Regions from separate parts of the Homo sapiens genome. Here regions 2, 3, 4, 5 and 6 are each linked to region 1. Evidence: promoter capture Hi-C in human tissues and cell types (Jung and others, 2019). All regions are on one chromosome and are shown on one strand. Each heading gives the region's core, a stretch centred on a gene start or on the middle of the fragment in contact. The rest is flanking DNA. Distances are from core to core; before and after follow the strand shown. Region 1 holds the start of DENND1C (DENN domain containing 1C). Region 2 overlaps RFX2 (regulatory factor X2). Region 3 overlaps RFX2 (regulatory factor X2). Region 4 overlaps VAV1 (vav guanine nucleotide exchange factor 1). Region 5 has its middle 1.6 kb from the start of RFX2. Region 6 holds the start of SH2D3A (SH2 domain containing 3A).

Region 1 (3,799 bases), core at 591-3,090:
ACTACTGCACCTGGCTAAAGTTTTAATTTTTGTAAAGATGGGGTCTTGTTATATTGCTCAGGCTGATCTTTAACTCCTGGCCTCAAACAATCCTACCTCAGCCTCCCAAGGTGCTGGGATTACTGAGCCACTGCCTCCAGCCCCTGTGTCTTTCATAGTCTGCAGCACGGCTTGAGTGTGTCGGGCTGTCATGAGTATCTGGCTGTCATGTGAGTCCAGCTGTGTCTCTCTCTGCATGTGGCCGGGTCTTGGCTATAACTATATCTGGTTATTACTTGAGCTATGTCTGTGCTGTGTTTCCATCTATCTGGGTCTATTTCTCTGTTATTCTGTTTGTATCAATGGCTGTGGTCTCTGTGTAACTGTTTATTGTGTCTCTGTCTGTCTCTGCATTTGTTTGTTTGTTTGTTTGCTTTGTTTTTGTTTTTGTTTTTGAGATGGAGTCTCACTCTTTCACCCAGGCTGGAGTGCAGTGGCACGATCTCGGCTCACTGCAACCTCTGCCTCCCGGATTCAAGTGATTCTCCTGCTTCAGCCTCCCAAGCAGCTGGGATTACAGGCACATGCCACCATGCCCAGCTAATTTTTTGTTTGTTTGTTTGTTTTTGATTTTTTGAGACAGAGTCCTGCTCTGTCGCCCAGGCTAGAGTACAGCGGCGCGATATCGGCTCACTGCAAACTCCGCCTCCCAGGTTCAAATAATTCTGCCTCAGCCTCCTGAGTAACTGGGATTACAGATGCCCACCACCGTGCCTGGCTAATCTTTGTATTTTTAGTAGAGACTGGGTTTCACCATCTTGGCCAGGCTGGTCTCGAACTCCTGACCTCGTGATCCACCTGCCTCAGCCTCCCAAAGTGCTGGGATTACAGATGTGAGCCACCGCACCTGGCCTGTATTTTTTTTTAATTAGAGACAGGGTTTCACCATGTTGGCCAGGCTGGTTGCAAACTCCTGACCTCAAGTGATCCGCTTACCTTGTCTTTCTGCGCACAATGGGTGTGTAACTGTGACTAAGTTGTTTTTTTTTTTTTTTGAGACAGGATCTCACTTTGTTGCTCAGGCTGGAGTACAGTAGTGCAATCTTGGTTCACTATGGCCTCAAACTCCCCAGGCTCAGGCGATCCTCCTGACTCAGCCTCCTGGGTAAGCTGGGACTATAGGTGCGTGCCACCACCGCCAGCTATAATTTTTGTAGCTTTTATAGACACAGGGTTTCGCCATGTTTCCCAGGCTGGTCTCGAACTCCTGGGCTCAAGCGGTCCTCCCACCTTGGCCTCTCAAAGTGCTGGGATTATAGGCGTGAGCCACTGTGCCCGGCCTGGGACTATGATCCAGCTGTAGGACTCCCTATCTCTCCATGTCTGTCGTCTCTGGCTCTTCTGCACTCGGTTTGTCTGTGCTGATGACTTCCTGAGCGTGTAACTGTCTGTGTCTGTGTCTGTCTGTCCGTCCCTGTGCCTGTACTTCGTGCTCTTTGTCCCCATCCCTGGCCCCCCCACCGTCCACTTTACAGGTGGCTCCCTCTGGTGGTCCACCAGTGACCGTCCAGGCCAAATGGACCAAGGGAAAGAGACGGGGAGGCATTTCATTAATAGACAGACTGTGAATCTTGGCTGCTGCGGAGCGGGGAAGGAGAGATGAGGGCCCAGGCACGATGGGGGGAACCAGACACAGTCCAGCCTGGCGGGGACGGAGCTGGGGGTCTGCCTTCCCAGGCTGACCACTTATTGCCCACCCATCCCCAACATAATTAGCAGGCAGGATGCCTGGGTTTCTCACGGGGGTGGGGGCAGGGCCTCTGTCCGGGGACGTCACCCGTTAAACTTCCTCTCTCAGCCACACAGGAAGCTGAGCCGGCTTGGGGCCCAGCATACACAGGCCCCCAGGACCCCTGGGGAGAGGGCCCCGCTGGGCTGGCCCTGCAGGGACCATGGAATCCAGAGCTGAGTAAGAGCCACCCCATCCCTCATTCTCTGGTACAAGATTCCCGGGCCAGGCCTGAGCCGGGGCAGAGGGGAGCTGGGGCTGGAGCAGGCCCGGGAGGTGCAGTGACCTGCCAGGGCAGGTGGCTGGAATCAGATACTCCATGGGCCTCCGCTATGACCTTCACTCTGGGACAGGCCACTCTCGGTCCCCTCCTCTCTCTCTCTCTCTCTCTCTCTATCCAGCTCCTGTGATTATGTCTATAGCTCTGTGAATGCATGTACCCCTCTGAGCTTTGTCCTTGGTATGTCTGAGTGATGGCTTCAGGGGGTCCACAGGGCGGATGATCAGGGCAGAGGGGAGGCTGGGTGTTGGTATGAGTGGGTGATCGTGTGTGACTTGTGTCGGCGTGAGGGTGAAGTGCTGGGGTACCCATGGTGGGGACTGTGTGTGCAACTGGGCGGGACAGTGTGTGTGCAGCTGATCTCCCTCTAGATCTCCCTGTCTCTCTCCTTGAGCCCAAGGCTGCCTCTTCTGCTTGATATGGGGGCAGAGGAGGAAAGCAGAGATTGCAGGGCTTACAGTAAGTACCTAGGTATCCTGCCCTCCTTTCTCTGATGAGACATGTGGGACCAGCCACGAGGGTTCTATGGGGTCTCACACACAGAGACACACAGCCAGCCCACAAGGATCCCACGCGGTTACCCAGTGACACTCACAGCTGTACAGGAAAATATAGATGTCATTCACTTGCTCGGGCACACACACTCACATCTATACAAGAAAATATAGATGGCATGGCTAGATGCAGTGACTCAAGCCTGTAATCCCAGCAATTTGGGAGGCTGAGGCGGGCAGATCACCTGAGGTCAGGAGTTTGAGAACAGCCTGGCCAGTATGTGAAACCCTGTCTCTACTAAAAATATGAAAATTAGCTGGGCGTGGTGGCGGGCACCTGTAATCCCAGCTACAGGGAGGCTGAGGCAGGAGAATCGCTTGAACCTGTGGGGTGGAGGTTGCAGTGAGCCAAGATCGTGCCACTGTACTCCAGCCTGGGTGACAAAGCAAAACTCCATCTCAAAAAAATAGATAGATAGATAGATAGATAGATAGATAGATAGATAGATAGATAGATAGATAGGTGGGTGGGTGGATGGATAGGTGGGTGGGTGGGTGGATGGATGGATGGATGGATAGACAGAGACAGACAGACAGACAGATAGATGGATATATATATAGAGAGAGAGAGATGTAATTCACTTAGCTTGGGACTGCACGGGCTGTCCTTCATATCTGTGCAGTCTCATGCCACAGATATAGGAGACAGTCTCATCTTTTCAGGCAGACAGCAGACAGGATCACACACACACTGCCTGCTCACAAAAGCCATGCACTCAGCCACACACAATCATACACAGCCACACACACACAGTCACACTTTCTCACTCCATCCTGTACTTGTGTGTTCAATTAACACTGCTGCACACACAGCCTCACACAACCACACACTCACAGCCACAAACCCCCAGAGTCATGCACATGCCGACGCACCTTGTGGCACATGCACACACAACCACACTTGTGTGCAAAGTGGCAGACACAACCACACATGCATAGAAGCAAGTCTCTGGACCCCTTCTGCATCCCACAGAGGGGGCTCCCCTGCTGTGTTTGATTGGTTCTTCGAAGCGGCCTGCCCTGCCTCCCTGCAGGAGGGTGAGTTGGGAGCCTGGGAGTGAGGGAGTGGGAGGGGAGGGTGGGCCTGGGTCGCTGAACTTAGAGGCGTGCTCTCTTCTACAGATCCCCCCATCCTGCGGCAGTTCCCTCCAGACTTCAGGGACCAGGTATTCAGGCTGGCTCCTTGCTCCCCCAGGG
Region 2 (3,799 bases), core at 380-2,879, 440 kb after region 1:
GAAGCCCATCTGAGGTGAGGATCAGACGCCGTCGCCCTGCCAGCAGTTGTGGCCTAATTGATATGTTTCCGTGCCCACTTGAAATTGTCCAAGAGGAGTCAGCCCTCAGGTCTTCCTGCCAAGCCCCTCTCTCAGGCTCTCCCAGGCCTAGGTGGACTCTGCCTTCCTCTGCAGCAGCCACCATGGACAGGTCTCAGTGCCACTCACGGCCACCATGTGTGTCCCAGGTTTCATCACTGTGGTCCCTCTCTGAGGACTTGCCAGGACCCTGTGAATTCTCCAAGCACACGGCGCCCAGCTCACCTGGAATCAGAATGCCCTTGCGCTGGCATCCTTATTAGCACCATCTTCATCCTTAGCTCCACTCCTGCAACACAGGGGATGGCGTGTCCTCACCCATCACCCCTCGTGATGTATATATGGCAGTCACTGCTACCTGTGACATTCAGGGTTCATGCCGGGAAATCACAGCACTGCAGCCAATGACTCCGAAAGCCCCAGCTCTCAATAAACACACAAAACACTCCTGTTCCTCCCTCGACTCGAGTTCACTTTGACCCTTCCCATTTTGATAGCTTTGTGTGGCCAATCGGTACTCCCAGAAAAATAGCAAAGCCACACTGTGCAGATTTGACTTAGGAGGCTGGAGAGCAGTGGGGTCAGAGAGCGAGGGACCCAGACACAGGGCACCTGGACTCGAGTATTCTGTAGCCAGAGGCAGCACTTGAGCCCTCTGGCTTCATTAACCTCATCAGAAAATGGAAACAAGTCCGGGTTATACTGCAGAAGCGAGGGGCGCCACAGAGTGCTCTCCCACGCAGTGGTGCGGATGGCTATCCAGAGGGCCCCAGCAGTCCCCTCTGTACTAGGGACGATCAGTGTCACCTTGCTGCAGACTACAGACCCACAGAGGCAAAGCTGCCTGGGCGGGTGAAGGTGCATGTGCTTCCGTGTATGTGTGTGTGCATACGTGTGTGTGTGCCCACAATTCGTGCATATGTGTGGTGCATGGGCTGAGTGTATGTGCACACTTGTGTATGTATGTGCATTGTTTGTGTGCCTGCACGTACCTGCCGTGTGTCTGCCCAGGTCGGTGTGAGTGTGCAAGTCTGACCATCACCCCGCCGTCGCCTCTGATCAGTCCTGCCTATGTTTTAATAAAAAGCACATGAACAGACAAACAGCATCTTACATTCTGTGTGTATCCTCAGCACTGACCTCTGACAAGTCTAACTGGCCTTCTCTCCCTTCCCTTTTAGAGGGTGTTGGTCCAGGCAGCCAGCTCCAATCCCAAAGGGGCCCAGATGCAGCCGATCTCCCTCCCCAGAGTTCAGCAGGTACCCCAGCAGGTAATGACAAGCACCGCAGCACCGTGCAAACCGGGGCGCAGTTAGCACTCAGCAATCCAGAACAATCTCTGAAGGATGCATCCTTTTCTGTGGCTGCTGTTCCTTGTTGTAAGCTTCAGTTTCTTAGCCAAAAGACTTTTCCAGAAGCTGTGCAATTTTAAAAAAATCATTTACTGCAGATAGTTTTGCAGAAAGCCAAGAAAGCTGGTGATCTTTCGTTCATTCAGAAATTCAGCAAGCATTTGGGGAACCAGTGAGCACCCCGCACCTGCTGGGTGGAGCTCAGGTAGAAATGCAGACAGAAACAAAGGGCTCTGGACTGGAGGAACCATCTGCTAGTGAGTGCCATACCCTCAGATGCGGGCACAACAGAGGAAATGCTTCTTATGATTTCAATTATCTAAGAACAAAGTTTGAAAGCACGGCTGACCAGCCAAGTAGCAACACAGATCATCAGCTTGGGGACACTCTAGAAGCATGGTTAGCAAACTGTTTCCAGAAAAGGCCAAATTATACATTTTTGGGGGTTTGTGGTCCAGGCAGTCTCTGGAACAACCACTCAATTCTGCCATTGTATCGCAAAAGCAGCCATAAATGATATGCAACCAAATGGGTGTGGCTGTGTGCCAATAAAACTTTATTTACAAAAACAGGCAGTGGGCCAGATTTGGCCCTCAGGGCCGGAGTTTGCCAACTGTGCCCTGCAGAATCCTGAATTAAAGTTAACTCAGGCTCCTCCCTAAAAGGAGCCCTGAGGCCCTAGAGAATGCACCGCTCTTCAGGAGGGTCCTGCCTAGATTGGCAGTCTGTTCACAGGCATTTGTCAGGTGACTGTGTCCATGAGAACTAGGAAGGTTTGCAGGATCACAGGAAGGAAAAGGCTCCAGACAGGCCCAGCGGGGACGCAGGGCCTCAGGCCAGTGGCTCTGTCTTAGCTGCTGTCTGTCAAGGCACTCCCCAGAGACACCAAGGAGAGGAGATTCCAGAAGCTTCCACCACTTTTCTGGTGCTGGGCCTGCCCCAGCTCTTTCTGTAACTTCTGCATTTCACTTGGACCCCAGAATTCGACATTTGACTTCCACCCCTGGGGCATCACCCAACAGATGTTAACCCCTGGAACTTGTGATTCTGGGGGTGGTGCGTTGGACAAGTGCATACCATGCTCAGTGGTCCAAGGAGGGGCAGGTCAGCCCCATCCTGCAGCTTCAAGCACAAGAGGAAGGTCACCATGACACCATGACACCCGAACAAGCCCACTTCTGTGGCCCTCCATCTTCTCACCCCAAAATTCAGTGGATGTAGACAGCCACTAAGATGCCCTCTGGGGTGAGAGTTTGAAGTCCCATGTGCAAAGCGTTTGGCTTCCACTGCTCGGACTAGAGTCCCTCGGGGCCTGTCAGCCGAGGCTCTGAACTGATGTTTCAGAGAGGGGAGGGCAGGGCAGCGGGGGTGTGCTGGGGTCCCCCCATTGCCCCATCTCTCCAGGCATGCCGCTCCTTCCCACTCTGTTCAGACCATCACATTCTCTCCCCTCCTCTCTGCCAGGGAAGGGGCACCAGGGCCACCCACGGGGGGTGTTGGGGCCATGTAGAGTCTAATCTGCTCAGCCCCCTGTGCACTGCAGCCTGCACGCCAGCTTGAGCTACAGAGGGAGACCCTGTCGCAAAAAAACAAACAAACAAACAAAAAAAAAAAACAGAAACCAGGGACAGTCCTGTGAGCCAAGGCTGGGCCTCTGTCCACAACTCTAGTTTCCACTGCACTGGAGGAGCGTTGTCATTCTCCTGGTCCCGCCCCCACGTATACAGAGGAGCCAGGGCGCACAGACACGCTAGCAGAGCTCTGGGGATCAGTCGCAGCTCCCTGAACTGTGTGGGCCCGTTTGGAATATGTCGTCTGTACATTACTGTCTCCTCAGTGTCTTTCTAGGCGTGCCGACTGTGGGCGGGAACATTGTCATTTGGTACTAAATGTTCATAAAGGCAATAGAAGACACGTCTAGCTTGAATAATCTGCAGGCAACTCACGAGGGCGTGACTGGCGGTAACGCAGCGTATCCGATGTTTCAGGTGCAGCCGGTGCAGCACGTGTATCCTGCCCAGGTGCAGTACGTGGAAGGGGGAGACGCCGTCTACACCAATGGAGCCATGTGCGTGCTTCTCCCGCGGGCCACACCCGGAACCCTCTCCCTGACTCCAGCCTTTGCCACCTGGGGAGGCATCAAGCAAATTCCTCTCCCTTATGCTTTTGGCGATGTGTTCACTAAATACTGTTAAAATGCTATTAGGAAACTGGGCAATATCTCTACAAAAAATTTTAAAATTAGCCAGACATGGTGACAAGTGCCTAGAGTCCCTCCCAGGTAATCAGGAGGCCAAGGTGGGAGGATCGCATGAGCCCAGGAGTTGGAGGCTGCAGTGAGCTATGATCACGCCTGACTGATGGAGCAA
Region 3 (3,799 bases), core at 962-3,461, 410 kb after region 1:
CCCAGCTACTTGGGAGGCTGAGGCACTAGAATAGTTTGAACCCGGGAGGTGGAGGTTGCAGTGAGCTGAGATTGTGCACTGCACCCCAGCCTGGGAGACAGAGCAAGATTCCATCTCAAAAAATAAAATGATATGCAAGTAATACAAGTAACATTCTCCTGGGAAGGACCACCATCTACAGCAGGAGATTCAGAAATGAAAATTTCTCTTTTCGTCTTTCTGTCTATCCCACCTCATATGAGGTAAGCACTGTTAGTCATATAACTTGTGTCCTTCTAGATCTTTTTAAGGCCCCTTTACCTATTTTATAGTATGTATAGCTGGGGTTTTTTCAACATAAATTTATTCTGCAAATATTTGAGAGCCTACTGTGTGCCAGGCACTGCAGATGTTGGCTTTCTTTCTTGGAGACGGTACCTCTTCTTTTTAATGGCAGCATAGTTTTAGAGCTAGGATGCACCATAAGGTACTTAATGATTTTCCTGTTGATGAACATTTGTTTCTAAATTTTTATGACTTAAACTAATGCCACTGGGGACAGGTCGTCAATATACCTTTTTTTTTTTTTTTTTTACAGCTGTGCTGAGATCTGTTTTACATACCGTAAAGCTCACCCATTTGAAGTGTATGGTTCAGTGGGTCTTAGTATACTATCTTCACAGAACATTTTCATCACTCCGAAAAGAAGAAGAAACCCTGAACCTGCCATGAACAGCCACTTGCCCTTCCTCCTCCCAGCCCCGGGCAACTGTGAATCCACTTTCTGTCTCTGTGGATTTGCCTGTTTTGAACCTTTCATATAAACAGAATCACACACTATGTGGCCTTTTGTGACTGGCTTCTTCCACGTAACATAATGTTTTCAGGGTCCACTGTCCATCCGTTTACAGCATGTGCCAGTGCCTCGTTCCTTTTTTTTTTTTTTTTTTTTGAGATGGAATTTTGCTCTTGTTGCCCAGGCTGGAGTGCAATGGCGCGATCTTGGCTCACTGCAACCTCCGCCTCCCGGGTTCAAGCGATTCTCCTGCCTCAGCCTCCCAAGTAGCTGGGATTACAGGCATGTGCCACCACGCCCGGCTAATTTTGTATTTTAATAGAGACAGGGTTTCTCCATGTTGGTCAGGCTGGTCTCAAACTCCTGACCTCAGGTGATCCACCCGCCTCAGCCTCCCAAAGTGCTGGGATTACAGGTGTGAGCCACCGCGCCCGGCCGCCTTCGTTTATCCATCCATCAGTTGACAAACATTTGGGCTGTTGCTACTTTGGGGCCATTAGGACAACGCTGCTGTGAACATTGGTATCCAAGCATTTGTGTGGCCATGCACTGTTTAGCACATGTCTACTTCTGCAGGATGAATTTTGAGGAGGGGAAAAAGACCCCACTTATAGCTAGCTCTTTGTCTCTGACTGTGTAGGTTTGAACATCTCGTAAGTCTTGAGAAATGCTTGGAGGCCATTTCCTGCAGAGGCACACGCCCCTCTTGGGTGGGCTGGGGGAGGCAGTGGCAGAGCCCAGCCCACCTGCCCCAGCCACCAGTGCTCCCGGGTTTTGCATTCAGCCCCTGGCACACACTCATGGCTAACCCTGGTGCCCTTGCCTGTCTTTGACCCAGCACTGGCGAAGGAATTGGCAAAGCCACCAGGTTAATGATGCAAGCCCCAGAAACTTGCGGCATAGATGAGAAGGCAAATGGCCTCTCCTTTTGGAGAACTAAAGAGATTTAAGGAAGCTTGCTGGCTCACTCCCTCTCACCGGCAAGGATGGCACTAAACACAGTCCGCATCAATCACTGTTTTTGTTATGCGATTTATGAGTTGCTCAGCCGAGAATAAGGTTGCACGTGGTAGGAGGAGTTCTGTGTGTACCGAGGTCTCATGGAAGGACTGGATTTCTAGGGAAGAAAAGGGAAAAGGGAGTTGATGTTAAAATATCATTTCTATAACAGTAATGCAGTAGTGTTCATCTAGAAGGAGAGCTGCCACATTTGGCAAGATGCTGGGAGAGAAACAAGTATTAAGTACTTGGTTAAAATGACAAACCCCACAAATATGCCCTGGAATGAATATAGCTCATAGCAGGAGGCACTCCCTAAAGGGCTTAGCAACATCACAAATAGCGAAGAGTTTTTGAAATCACAAATAGCAAACAGCATAACTGCTTTTAGTTTCAGATATTTAAATCTGCAAAAAATCAGTAAATTATGTGGGTTACGTTATAATGGTGTGAATTACAACGATGACGCTAATGAACATTTATGGGCATTTTCCGTGTGCTGGGCTGGCCATTAAACTCCACACTTTGTAGGACTCCTCTCATTTAACACAACCACCCAACACAGATAGAAGTATTTTCTCCGTTTATGGACAAAGAAATGGAAGTGCAGAAAGATTTAAGTCCCTGGCTGAGGTCACCCAGCTAGAAACTGGAGGACCCAGGAACTGGACCCAGGCACCGGACCCAGGCACCCTCGCCTAGCCTCCTGTTTTAGAGCTAGGATGCACCGTAAGGTAGTTAATGGTATTCCAGTTGATGAACGTTTGTTTCTTATTTATGTATTTATTTATTTTGAGACAGAGTCTCTCTCTGTCACCCAGGCTGGAGTACAGTGGCACCATCTCGGCTCACTGCAACCTCAGCCTCCCGGGTTCAGGCGATTCTCCTGCCTCAGCCTCCCAAGTAGCTGGGATTACAGGCATGCACCACCACGCATGGCTAATTTTTGTATTATTTTTTAGTAGAGATGGGGTTTCGCCATGTTGGCCAGGCTGCTCTCGAACTCATGACCTCAAGTGATCTGCCCACCTTGGCCTCCCAAAATGTGCTGGGATTACAGGCATGAGCCACCGCCCCCAACCTCGTTTCTAATTTTTTGTGAACACCAAGCTCCGAAAGCCAAGTAAAGGGGTGACGCTGTGTATTTCAGAGCTCGATATTCCCTCTGCTTTCTTCCTCTCCTCTGTCCCCTATGCCAGATCCTCCAACTGTTCATGACCTTTGAACTTGAGAAGGGACCTCTTTTCTGCTTTATCTACACCTGCTTTCCTGGTGATCTCACCGAGGTACAAGAGTTGAAATGCATCTTAGAACCTCCAGTGTCCTAGTGTCTGCAGCCTGGCTCACTCCCCGAATCCTGGACTTGTGTACCTAGCTGCCTAGGTGGCAGCTGCATGTGGGTGTCATCTGATGGGCATCTGAGGCTTCTGTCACCCAAAACTGGGTGCCTGATTCGACCTCACACTTGTCTCTCCCCAGACCACGGGCTTCCCCAGCTCAGCACCGGGCAGCTCCATTCTCTAGGTGCTCAGGCCAGCCCCAAGCCTTAAGTCAGCCTCGACTCCTCTCTTTCTTTCACCCTTTATGTCAAACCCGTCAGCAAACCTGGCTGGCTCTGTCTTCAGGTGTCTCCCAAATGAGAGCACTGCTATCACGTAAGTCTTTGTCACCTCTGACCTGGTTGTCCAGCCCTGACGTTTGCTTCCATTGACCGTTGATACTTCCAAAATATCTGTCAGATTGTGTCCCTGTGCCCTAAACCTTCCAGTAGCTTCCCAGCACACTCAGAGCGAAAGCCAAACACTCCACTGTGGCCTCCTTGTGTCTCTAAGTCCATCTTCTCCTCCTCCTCCTCCTCCTCCTCCACCTTCTCCTCCTCTTCTTTCTCCTCTTCCTCCTTCTCCTCCTGTCTTAATCTGTTTGGGCTGTTTCAGCAAAAGGCCATAGACTGGGTGGCTGTAAACAACAGACACACATCTCTCAGCCCTGGAGGTGGGAAGTCTGAGAAGAGGGTGCCAGCAGGGT
Region 4 (3,799 bases), core at 455-2,954, 370 kb before region 1:
TTAATCAGTTTGGCCTTTCAGAAGTCATCCTGATCCACTCCTAGGGTGGGTCAGGGGCTCCCTCAGTGCTCCCACGCTGCCCTGTGATTCTCCACCACAATCTCTTTTATTCTTTCTTCTTTTTTTTAAAGACAGGGTCTTGTTCTGTCACCCAGGCTGCAGTGGCACAATCATAGCTCACTGCAGCATCCAACTCCTGGACTCAAGCAATCCTCCCACCTCAGCTTCCTGAGTACCTGGGACACACTACCACGCCCAACTAATGTTTTTGTTTTTATTTTTATTTATGTAGAGGTGGGATCTCACTATTTTAGCCAGGCTTGCCTTGAATTTGTGGCCTCAAGAGATCCTCCCACCTCAGCCTCCCAAAGCACTGGGATTACAGGCATGAGCCACCGTGACTGGCACCCTTGTTAGTCTTGACCACTCAGTGTCATGACTGCTTGGTTATAGGTCTGTCCTCCACATTCGATTATAAGTTTCATGAGGGCAATCCTTGTACCGTGCTTGTTTCTGTCTCCTCGACACCCAGCACAATGTCTGCACACAGCAGGTGCTGAATACATGCAGGTAGGTTGCATAAATGCATAAATGACATCCCTGTGTCCCTTCCTTCCCTCCCACCGTGAGAGATCTCCATGGGAGCCGCACCTCACCTTCTCCAGTCCCCAGTTCCAGTCTCGTCCACCACCAGCTCAACCCCCATGCCCTCCCCGTCACCCAGCCCTGCCTGCCTCACCCGGCCATAGATCTCCCCTCGCCACCAGCCTTGCTGTCCCTTCTTGTTAAGGATCTTGATGATGTCACCCTCCTTGAGCGACAGCTCTGATCGGTCTCGGGCGCAGAAGTCATAGCGGGCTTTGGCTGTGCCAAAATACTTTGTGCTTCCCACTGTGGAGAGAGAACAGAAGTGAGAAAAGGGTCTGGGGCAGATACCCACTCACTCTCTGGGGGCACAAGCTCTCAGGACAGTAACTCCAGGATAAAGGGCTCCTCAGTGCTCTTTTCTGCAGAGTATTAGATGCCCTGTACTGTAAGGGGACACAATTGTACTCCCAGCATCATCCTCCCGTCTGAATTTAGAAAATAACACTTTTTTTTTTTTTTGAGATAAAGTCTCTCTCTGTCACCCAGACTGGAGTGCGGTGGCACAATCTCAGCTCACTGCAACCTATGCCTCCTGGGTTCAAGTGATTCTCCTGCCTCAGCCTCCTGAATCACGGGGATTACAGGCCTGTGCCACCATGCCCGGCTGATTTTTATGTTTTTTTTTTTTAGTAGAGATGGAGTTTCACCATGTTGGCCAGGCTGGTCTTGAACTCCTAACCTCAAGTGATCCACCCACCTTGGCCTCCCGAAGTGCTGGAGTTACAGGCATGAGCCACCGCACCCAGCCAGAAAATAAGACTGGTTTGGAATTTTTATTTTTATTTTTTTATTTTGAGGCTGAGGCATGAGAATCCCTCGAACCCAAGAGGTGGGAGGCAAAGGTTGCAGGGAGCTAAGATCGCACCACTGCACTCCAGCTTAGGCAACAGAGTGAGACTCTGTCTCAAAAAATAAATAAATTAATTAATTAAATTATATTATATTAAAATATATATAGGAAGGGATAGACAGGAGTGGAAAGGGGTTCCTGCTACTGCACAGATATGACCTCTGCAAGGCCATTGGAAGGGGTGTCAATGGCATCCCCAAAGTTTCCCTCCACAATGGGAAGGGGCTGAGGCTGTAAGCCCCCAGTCTGAGACCTCCTACCTGCTGGCCTGCTGATGGTTCTCTTTTCAGGCTCCTTGAAGGGGAACTGCAAGGTGGTGTCCAGAGACTTGAAGCAATCCTTTAGAGAGTTCTGCTGGTAAAACTCCACCAGCTCCTAGAAGGCGGACCACATGGCAGATGCTATCCCAGCGGGCCAGCCCATAAGGGGGCAGAGCTAGGAACAGCCATATGCAACTCCTCACATGAAGCAGGCCCTGTTTCTGGCCTCTTTGGAAAGTGACCCCTTGAATACTCCCCATGATGGGGAGTTCATCACCTCCCTGAGCAGCCAGGACTATTTATGGGGAAGGGACCACACTGCCTAAAACAGGTTCTTTCTTTCTTTTTTTTTTTTCTTTGAGACGGAGTCTGGCTCTGTCGCCCAGGCTGGAGTGCAGTGGCGCAATCTCGGCTCACTGCAAGCTCCGCCTCCAGGGTTCATGCCATTCTCCTGCCTCAGCCTCCCGAGTAGCTGGGACTACAGGCGCCCGCCACTACGCCCAGCTAATTTTTTATATTTTTAGTAGAGACGGGGTTTCACCGTGTTAGCCAGGATGGTCTCGATCTCCTGACCTCGTGATCCGCCTGCCTCGGCCTCCCAAAGTGCTGGGATTACAGGCGTGAGCCACCGTGCCCGGCCAAAAACAGGTTCTTTCAATAGTGGACTAACTTACTTCGTGATAAATTTACCAGATAATTAGCTCACCAAATTCAAAACCTTCTATGGGGCCACATGCCTTAATTTACAATTAGCAATCATCATCAGGCCAGATGTAGTGGCTCATGCCTGGAATCTCAGCACCTTGGGAAGTCAAGGTGGGAAGTTCACTTGAAGCCAAGAGTTCAAGACCAGCCTGGGCAACATAGCAAGATCCCATCTCTAAAAAAGATTTAAACAATTAGCCAGGCATGACAGTGCATGCCTGTAGTCTCAGCTATTCAGGAGGCTGAGGAGGGAGGATCGCCTGAGCCCAGGGGTTTGAAGCCACAGTGAGCTATGATCACAACATTGCACTCTAGCCTGGGCCACAGAGCAAGACCCTGTCTCTTGTATTTTTTTTAAAGTAAACCTATATGAAAGGTTCATAGATACTCACTACCCTATTCCAATAACTTGTCTGAAATTTTTCAGAAGTTAAAAATTGGGGGAATATGTTTCAGAATAAAAAGTATGGAGGAAAAAAAAGATTTGTTGAATAAATTAAACTTTGGGGGAGTCAAGGATCCATTTGAGAATCAAGTGAAATCTAAGACAAAAAATACAGATGCATGCAACATTCTGATTTTCTTTCAGAGGACTCAGCTTCTCAAGGGCCCACAGACCATGGGTAAAAACCATATGCCTTAGATCATTAGGCCTAAAGTGTCTAAAATATGGTTGAAAATTACAAGGCACCAAACAGAAGCAAGAACCCTCAAAAGGCATTTGAGTTGTTGCTGAAATGATTATGCAGCAGATTAGGCAAAGACAAGCTATGGGCTCTGCCATTCAGTGAAGCTAGACGAGGAGTAAACCTCAGTTTTACCCATCTGTGAAATGGGAACTCAGAAAGAAGGTTGAGGGGATTAATTAGGTTTCTATCTATAACATATTTGAGGGCTGAATGCAGTAGCTCACACCTGTAATCCCAACACTTTGGGAGGCCAAGACAGAAGGATTATTTGAGCCCAGGAGTTCAAGGCCAGCCTGAGCAACAAAGCAAGTCCCCATCTCTACAAAAAAAAAATTTTTTTTTAAAATTAGCCAGGCATGATGGTGCATGCCTATAGTACCAGCTGCTCGGGAGGCTGAGGCGAGAGATTATTTAAACCAGGAATTTGAGGCTGCAGTGTACTATGATTGCACCACTGCACTCCAGCCTGGGCAACAGAGCAAGACTCTCTTTCTCTCTCTCAATCTCTCTCTCTCTATCTATCTATATATATAAAAATAAACAGATACACGTATATACATGTACCCTACATACATATGTATACATATGTATATATACGTAAGTAAAATTTAAATACACATACATACATATGTATGTATATATGCATA
Region 5 (3,007 bases), core at 272-2,771, 370 kb after region 1:
CCAAGCAGGATTGTTGGATATCCCAGGGAGATCATCTCTGGCTGCTCTATCTAAGGTAAGCCCCACCCACCCACTTCTCCCACCAAGCCACTACTGTATCACTTTTCCTATGGCCATGGGAATTTTATCTATTTTATTTACACCTGTGTCCCTAGCACCTAGCAAATAGTAGGCGCTATCTATCTATCTATCTATCTATCTATCTATCTACCTATCTATCTATCATCATATACTATATATATACACACATATATGTGTGTGTATATATGTGTGTGTATATATATAAATGTATATATATATATATTAGAGACAGGTTCTTGCTCTGTCTACCAAGCTGGAGTTCAGAGGCACAGTCATAGCTCACCACAGCCTAGAACTCCTGGGCTCAAGCGATCCTCCCACCTCAGCCTCCTGAGCAGCTGGGACTATAGGTGTGCACCACTGCGCCTGGCTAATTTATTTTATTTTTATAGAGATAAGGTCTCACTATGTTGCCCAGGCTGGTCTTGAACCCCTGGCCTCAGACGATCCTCCTGCTGAGTCACTGCACTTGGACCTCAATAAATATTTTTGACTAAATTAATAATTGAATGAAAGGGACTGATTACTGTAGACCACTTGAGCTTAAGAATCTGTCACATGGCCAGGCGCAGTGGCTCCTGCCTGTAATCCCAGGACTTTGGGAGGCTGAGGCGGGTGGATCACTTGAGATCAGGAGTTTGAGACCAGCCTGGCCAACACGGTGAAACCCCGTCTCTACTAAAAATACAAAAATTAGCCAGGCGTGGTGGCGCGTGCCTGTAACGCCAGCTACTCGGGAGACTGAAACAGGAGAATCACTTGAACTCGGGAGGCGGAGGTTGCAGTGAGCCGAGATCATGCCACTGCACTCCAGCCTGGGCGACAGAGACTCTGTCTCAAGAAAAAAAAAAAAATTAGAAGATGATGAAATCAATTTAGCAAATCACCGTCAACATTTTAATTAAAATGAAACAGAACAGGAAATATCAGAGTGCGTTAAAGTATCATTTCACGGTACTTTAGTTACAGTATCATTTGTTTTAGTTATAGATATGTTTGTGTGGACTGAGCCCCTAGGTAAAATGTATTTCCTGCTGTATGCTGTGGTCAAAAATGTTTGAAAACCACCCATCTAGTGATCAAGAGCATGGACTTTGGCACTAGACTACTAGGGTTCCGATCCCTCACAAGCTGTTTGACACTGGGCAAATTCACTCATTCTTTCTGGGCCTCAGCTTCCTGATCTGAAAAATGGGGAAAGGCCGGGCATGGTGGCTCATGCCTGTAATCCTAGCACTTTGAGAGTCCAAGGCGGGCGGATCACTTGAGGTCAGGAGTTCCAGGCCAGCCTGGCCAACATGGTGAAACCCCGTCTCTACTAAAAATACAAAAATTAGCTGAGCGTGGTGGCGGGCGCCTGTAGTCCCAGCTACTTGAGAGGCTGAGGCAGGAGAATCACTTGAACCCGGGAGACAGAGGTTGCAGTGAGCGAGCCAGATCGCACCACTGCACTCCAGTCTGGGTGACAGAGAGAGACTCTGTCTCAAAAAAAAAAAAAGAAAAAACAAAACAAATAAAAACGGGGATAATGCCTAGCATCTTTCTAAAGATGCGATTGTAAGATTTAATGAGTTTGCATATTTAAAAAATGCTTAGATCACTTTCAGGCACATAGCAATTTAATCAGTGCTCACTAATATGATTTCTTGTTGAATGAATGAGTGGGGCTGAAGCCTAATCTCCTGCCTTTTCTCAGTACAAGTTGTTTTCTCCTATTCTTCCAGCCCCTTGTCTCGAATAACTATATGTTTACCTCTTTATTCTGTTTGCTGTCAATGTTCCCTCACTAGAATAAAAGTTCTATGAGGATCTGTCTGTTTCTGTCCTACTCGTAGCTGAATCTACCAGCTTGAGAGGAGGGCTGGTGAGTTTGGCAAACATTTTCTGTAAAGGACCGTATAGTAAATATCTTAGGCTTCGCGTGGGACATGCCGTCTTTGCGCAACTACTCCACTCCGCCCCTGTAGTGTCAAAGCAGCCTTCCAAGCTGTTCAAGGAAATGGGCGTGGCTATGTTCCAATAAAGCTTTATTTACAAACCCAAGCAGGCAGAATTTGACCCGCAGGCCGCAGTTTGCCAATCTTTAAACTAGTTCAAAATACTGGGCCCAATACAATAAAAGAGAGTCTCCTATCAGGTTCACACCCCACAAAAGCTCCTTTTGATAGTTTCTTTTTTTTTCTTTCTTTCTTTTTTTTTTTTTTGAGACGGAGTCTCGCTCTGTCGCCCAGGCTGGAGTGCAGTGGTGCGATCTCGGCTCACTGCAAGCTCCGCCTCCCAGGTTCGCACCATTCTCCTGCCTCAGCCTCCCAAGTAGCTGGGACTACAGGCGCCTGCCACCACGCCCGGCTAATTTTTTGTATTTTTAGTAGAGACGGGGTTTCACCGTGTTAGTCAGGATGGTCTCGATCTCCTGACTCCGTGATCCACCCGCCTTAGCCTCCCAAAGTGCTGGGATTACAGGCGTGAGCCACCGCGCCCGGCCGATAGTTTCTTTTAACCATGTAAAAAATATATATATATTTAAATTTTCAGCTGGGGGTCCGTGAAAAACAGGCGGCGAGCGAGAGTTTGCTGACCCCTGATCAGACTGTTCCCACATGTCCCACACTCCTCCTGTGGGGTAAACGGAGTCCCTTGGGTCCCCTAAAACTGGACTTTCCCAAAACGCGCCACCAACCCACGGCGCCGCGCGCGCGACCGGTTCGCCAACCCTCTGAGCCGCGCGCGCCTCCCGCCAAGACCCGCCCCTCTTCGCGGCCATTGGCCGAGTCTCGCACTCTTTTTCAAGGGGGAACGCCTCCTCCTTCCGACAGACTCTGCAGACAGCCAATGGAACGCCGTAGGGTCTCGCGCCCCGCCCTCTTGGGGGCCCGTTGGAGGCGAGCGTGGGCGGGCCGTTAGGAAGGTGGGGCGCGGAGCCTGG
Region 6 (3,799 bases), core at 419-2,918, 290 kb before region 1:
GCCAGGTTAACTTGGGCAAATGGTTTAGTTGCCCTGTGCCTCAGTTTCTCCATCTGGAAAATGGAAGTGATGAAAATACTACCTACCACCCTTACAGGGTGGTCTGTTTGAAAATTAAAATAGAGGCCTCATGCCTGTAACCCCAGCACTTTGGGAGGCCGAGGCAGGTGGATCACATGAGGTCAGGAGTTTGAGACCAGTCTGGCCGAGACCCCATCTCTACTAAAAATACAAAAATTAGCCTGTAATCCCAGCTACTCGGGAGTCTACAGCCGGAGAATCGCTTGAACCGGGGAGGTGGAGGTTGCAGTGAGCTGAGACTGCTGCCACTGCACTCCAGTCTGGGCAACGAGAGTGAAACTCCATCTCAAAAAATAAAATAAAATAAAATAAAGGCAAGTTGACAGAACAGCCCTTGTGTACAGTAAGTGCTCAATAAATGTTAGCTGCTGCTACTGCTTTTAAGACTGTGGTTACTGGGGCCAAGCACAGTGGTTCATGCTTGCTTGTAATCTCAGCGCTCTGGGAGGCCAAGGCAGGAAGTTCGCATGAGCCCAGGAGTTCCAGAGCCTGGGCAGCATAGTAAGACGCCACATCTACAAAAAATAAAATAAAATCAGCTGGGTGTGGTGGTGTGCACCTTTAGTCTCAGCTGCTTGGAAGGCTGAAGCGGGAGGATAGCTTAAGCCCAGGAGGTTGAGGCTACAGTGAGCTATGATCACCACTGCACTCCGGCCTGGGCAATATAGCAAGACCCTGTCTCTACAAGACAAGACTGATGTTAATATGAGGAACTCATCAATAAACGTGGCCAAAGAGTCCTCTCTCTTGCACTAGGTCCCTGTCACCTTTTCTCTTGTTCGTCTCCAGGCATCACGATGGAAGTCCCCCCCACCCTTCTTCCCACCTGGGAAACCACCTGAATGATTTGCCTTCCACCTCCACCAAAGTCCCGCCCCGCTCCAGCGTGCTGTCACTGAAGGAAGCTGTCGCGTTTTCCCGGACGTCTCTCCACAAAACCCGCCACCTAAATGGGGCTTCTTTCCGGAAAATCCGGGAGGGCGGTCTGGAGGAAGCGTACCCCTCCTTACGTCACAGCTGCCGCAGCTACCCCAGCCTGGCGTAAGAGCCCGAGGGAGTTGCCCTGCCCTGACCCGGAGCCTTGGCGGGGAGGGGAGAGAGGCACCCCACTCCACCCCGCCCTGGTCCCAAAGGGCCATGGGTGCTTGGGGCCGCCTGGGTGGAAGGGAGGGGCAGGGTTCTAAGGGGCGGGAACGTTGGGATGAAATTTCTTCTATTGCCCTAAGGGGCGGGGCTGAGAAGGAGGTGGCTGCGGGTGGGCGTAGTCATTCGGCGGTGGTCGTGGCTATATACAAGGGGAGGGGCCACTGGCAGGAAAGGATGCGTGGTGCTCCCCTAGTGGGCGGGGTCTATGGAGAAAGCGGTGCGATGCAGAAGGAGGCGTGGCTAGTAGCAAAAAAAATGGTTTTAAGGGGGCGGAGCAAGGGCCTGGGAAGTTAGTTTGAGGCGGGGCCCGCAGGGGGCGGGGTCTGCAGGAGGTGTGGTCAGGTAACTGGGCTGAGTTCCCACTAGGTGTGGTCTGGGAAGGCTGGGGCGGTGGCAAGGTGGAGGGCGGGGGTGACAGCAGCCCGGAGCCGCGGAGCCTCAGCTTCCGCCTGGACCCAGCCTCGTGGGAGCCCCGCGGGTCCTGCCCAGGTGAGTGGAGCCCCAGGGCAGATCCAGAACCAGGATTATTGGGATGGGGAGTCCTCTCTTTCCAGGTGGGGTCACCGGCTCGCAGGGAGGATCTGGGGTAGAAGAGGTCGCCTCGCGAATGAGAGGGTCGCTGTGCGTTACGCGTGTCGGTGTGCTCGGGCTCACCTGGGCGTGCCTCTCTAAGTGTATTTCCTGTGCAGCACAGAAAGCCATTGTTTCCATTTTTGCCTGAGTGATCCTCTTAAACGGCGAATCAGATCGGGCCCCTCCTTCACTTAAAACCCTTGGGTCATAGAGATTAAAATTCAAAGTCCACTAGTTTTTGCCTAGTCTCTCCTCCTGATCTCTCCAACCTCATTGCCCTCCTATCTACTCCTTCCTCATCGTATTCCGGCTACACCAGCCGCCTTGATGATGTAAAATGTAAAAAGCAAGTCCATCTCAGCTCCAGGCCTTTACCCTTACTGTACCCCTCACCCAGGCGACTCCTCCAAATCTTTGCCTAACTGCCTCCTTCTGTACTGAGGTCTCAGTTCCAATGTCACTTTATAGGAGAGGCTGTCCTGTCCAGCCTCCTCTATCACATCTCCCTGGCTTATCACTTTCATTGATAACTCTTAGAAATGGTCTGTCTTCTCCATTCATCTTGTGCTCGTTTGCAGTCTGTCTTGCGCAGCCGACTGCAAGCTCTGGAGGGCAGGGTGGTGCCGAGCTTTAATCTCCTTAGTCACTGTATCTCTAGGTCCTAGAACAGAGCCTGGTGCACAGCAAGTGCTCCAGCAATGGTCGTCCAACGTCAAAAGCGAGTCCTGCCTACATCTGTGTTTGTGTTGCCTGTGCTGGTGGTTCCCACCCTCCACGTCCTCCCCACACGTGGACACATGTTTATGATCCAACTGGAACATGAATAATCCCCTCTCTCCTCTCTCTATGCTTGGTCTGATTCCTGATTCTGCCCGTTTCTTCTCTTCCGTGCCCGAATAAATGATCCCAAAGGACTCAGAGGCAGGAGATGGCTTAGTTGGCCTTTGGCTGACCTATGGCCACCCTGTGTCCTCAAACTAACCAGAACCTTGCCATTGACTCAACTTCACTCTCACTAAGGGAGACACAAGACAGGAACTTGGGGTTGGGAAACTCTGCGACCGAGGCTAGCCCTGGTCCAGGTGACAAACAGGAAGTGCGCAGGCATTGCAAAGACACACCTGGCTTCAGGTATGCGGCACTGGCAGCTGGCTCCCTGCCCAGCGCTCCTCCCCTAAAGCCACCTAGGGCTGGTCTGGGAACTTCCTGCTGACTCAGGAGGCAGGAATTTCTCTGCAGACCCCACCAGAAGACTTTGCAGGGCTGCAGGGAGAGCTTGCAGGAGAGTAAGAAGCAGATTATCTTCTTCTGGACCATCCAGAGAAATCTCCCCCACCAGACACCTGAGACACACTGGCCCTGAGGCCTGTGAGATTATCGGGAAACTACCAAAATGTCTGAGATCCAAATTCAATCATCATGATAACCACATGTATGGGCTCCGAAATAGAAGGATCTGCAAAGGCAACATTGCTGTTTGCTGACATTGCTACAAAATGTGACCTTTTAAAAATCTTAACCCTGGGGTTACATTCTTTTTTTTTTTTTTTTTTTTGAGACGGAGTCTTGCTCTGTCACCCAGGCTGGAGTGCAGTGGTGTGATCTCGGTTCACTGCAGGGTCTGCCTCCTGGATTCAAGCGATTCTCTCTCCTCAGCCTCCTGAGTAGCTGGGACTACAGGCACACGCCACCATGCCTGGCTAATTTTTGTATTTTTAGTAGAGACGGGGTTTCACTGTGTTGACCAGGCTGGTCTCAAACTCCTGACCTCAGATGATCCACCCACCTCTGCCTCCCAAAGTGCTAGGATTACAAGAGTGAGCCACCGCGCCTGGCCCCCAGCGTTGCATTCTAAAGCAAAGAATAGGGGTTAGATCTGCACCTATCCTGAGAACCTCTGAGTGTGCGCATAGGTTGCCGAGAAGCCATGGATGTTTGTAAGTTAAATTCCCCCTGACTGGGATGTTTTTTCACCCAGAGTCACCTGGCACACTCCCCA

What was found. Contacts are between HindIII fragments. The study calls those that stand out against the background at their distance.
Region 2: a contact is called between a fragment that was not itself captured here and the fragment with the promoter of DENND1C in region 1, in 2 of the 25 tissues and cell types used here (dorsolateral prefrontal cortex and lymphoblastoid cells).
Region 3: a contact is called between a fragment that was not itself captured here and the fragment with the promoter of DENND1C in region 1, in 3 of the 25 tissues and cell types used here (bladder, dorsolateral prefrontal cortex and lymphoblastoid cells).
Region 4: a contact is called between a fragment that was not itself captured here and the fragment with the promoter of DENND1C in region 1, in 2 of the 25 tissues and cell types used here (neural progenitor cells and spleen).
Region 5: a fragment that was not itself captured here is called in contact with the fragment with the promoter of DENND1C in region 1 in 2 of the 25 tissues and cell types used here (heart right ventricle and lymphoblastoid cells).
Region 6: the fragment with the promoter of SH2D3A here is called in contact with the fragment with the promoter of DENND1C in region 1 in 9 of the 25 tissues and cell types used here (IMR-90 fibroblasts, dorsolateral prefrontal cortex, heart right ventricle and 6 more).

What each region holds. Positions count from the first base shown.
Region 1 is chr19:6,479,828-6,483,626 of GRCh38, reverse strand. It overlaps DENND1C (DENN domain containing 1C), which reads left to right and starts at 1,840. Exons shown (of 23, transcript NM_024898.4): 1 at 1,840-1,948; 2 at 3,576-3,640; 3 at 3,725-3,768. The coding sequence starts at 1,932. RefSeq lists enhancers at 1,355-1,649, 3,246-3,745. The HindIII fragment of the contact is 27,793 bases long and covers 1-3,799 here.
Region 2 is chr19:6,041,743-6,045,541 of GRCh38, reverse strand. It overlaps RFX2 (regulatory factor X2), which reads left to right. Exons shown (of 18, transcript NM_000635.4): 3 at 1,260-1,349; 4 at 3,419-3,498. Among named protein-coding and RNA genes, the nearest start is that of RFX2-AS1, 19 kb to the left of the region's middle. The HindIII fragment of the contact is 4,983 bases long and covers 1-3,799 here.
Region 3 is chr19:6,075,113-6,078,911 of GRCh38, reverse strand. All of the region lies in intron 1 of RFX2 (regulatory factor X2), which reads left to right. RFX2-AS1 (RFX2 antisense RNA 1) reads right to left here. Exons shown (of 2, transcript NR_199041.1): 2 at 1,788-1,892. Among named protein-coding and RNA genes, the nearest start is that of RFX2-AS1, 14 kb to the right of the region's middle. RefSeq lists an enhancer at 3,752-3,799. The HindIII fragment of the contact is 7,886 bases long and covers 1-3,799 here.
Region 4 is chr19:6,851,039-6,854,837 of GRCh38, reverse strand. VAV1 (vav guanine nucleotide exchange factor 1) reads right to left here. Exons shown (of 27, transcript NM_005428.4): 25 at 1,759-1,873; 26 at 740-891. Among named protein-coding and RNA genes, the nearest start is that of ADGRE1, 35 kb to the left of the region's middle. The HindIII fragment of the contact is 9,205 bases long and covers 1-3,799 here.
Region 5 is chr19:6,110,610-6,113,616 of GRCh38, reverse strand. No RefSeq gene overlaps it. Among named protein-coding and RNA genes, the nearest start is that of RFX2, 1.6 kb to the right of the region's middle. RefSeq lists a silencer at 2,796-3,007. The HindIII fragment of the contact is 4,122 bases long and covers 1-3,007 here.
Region 6 is chr19:6,765,304-6,769,102 of GRCh38, reverse strand. It overlaps SH2D3A (SH2 domain containing 3A), which reads left to right and starts at 1,668. Exons shown (of 10, transcript NM_005490.3): 1 at 1,668-1,716. RefSeq lists a silencer at 1,130-1,189 and an enhancer at 3,278-3,799. The HindIII fragment of the contact is 38,619 bases long and covers 1-3,799 here.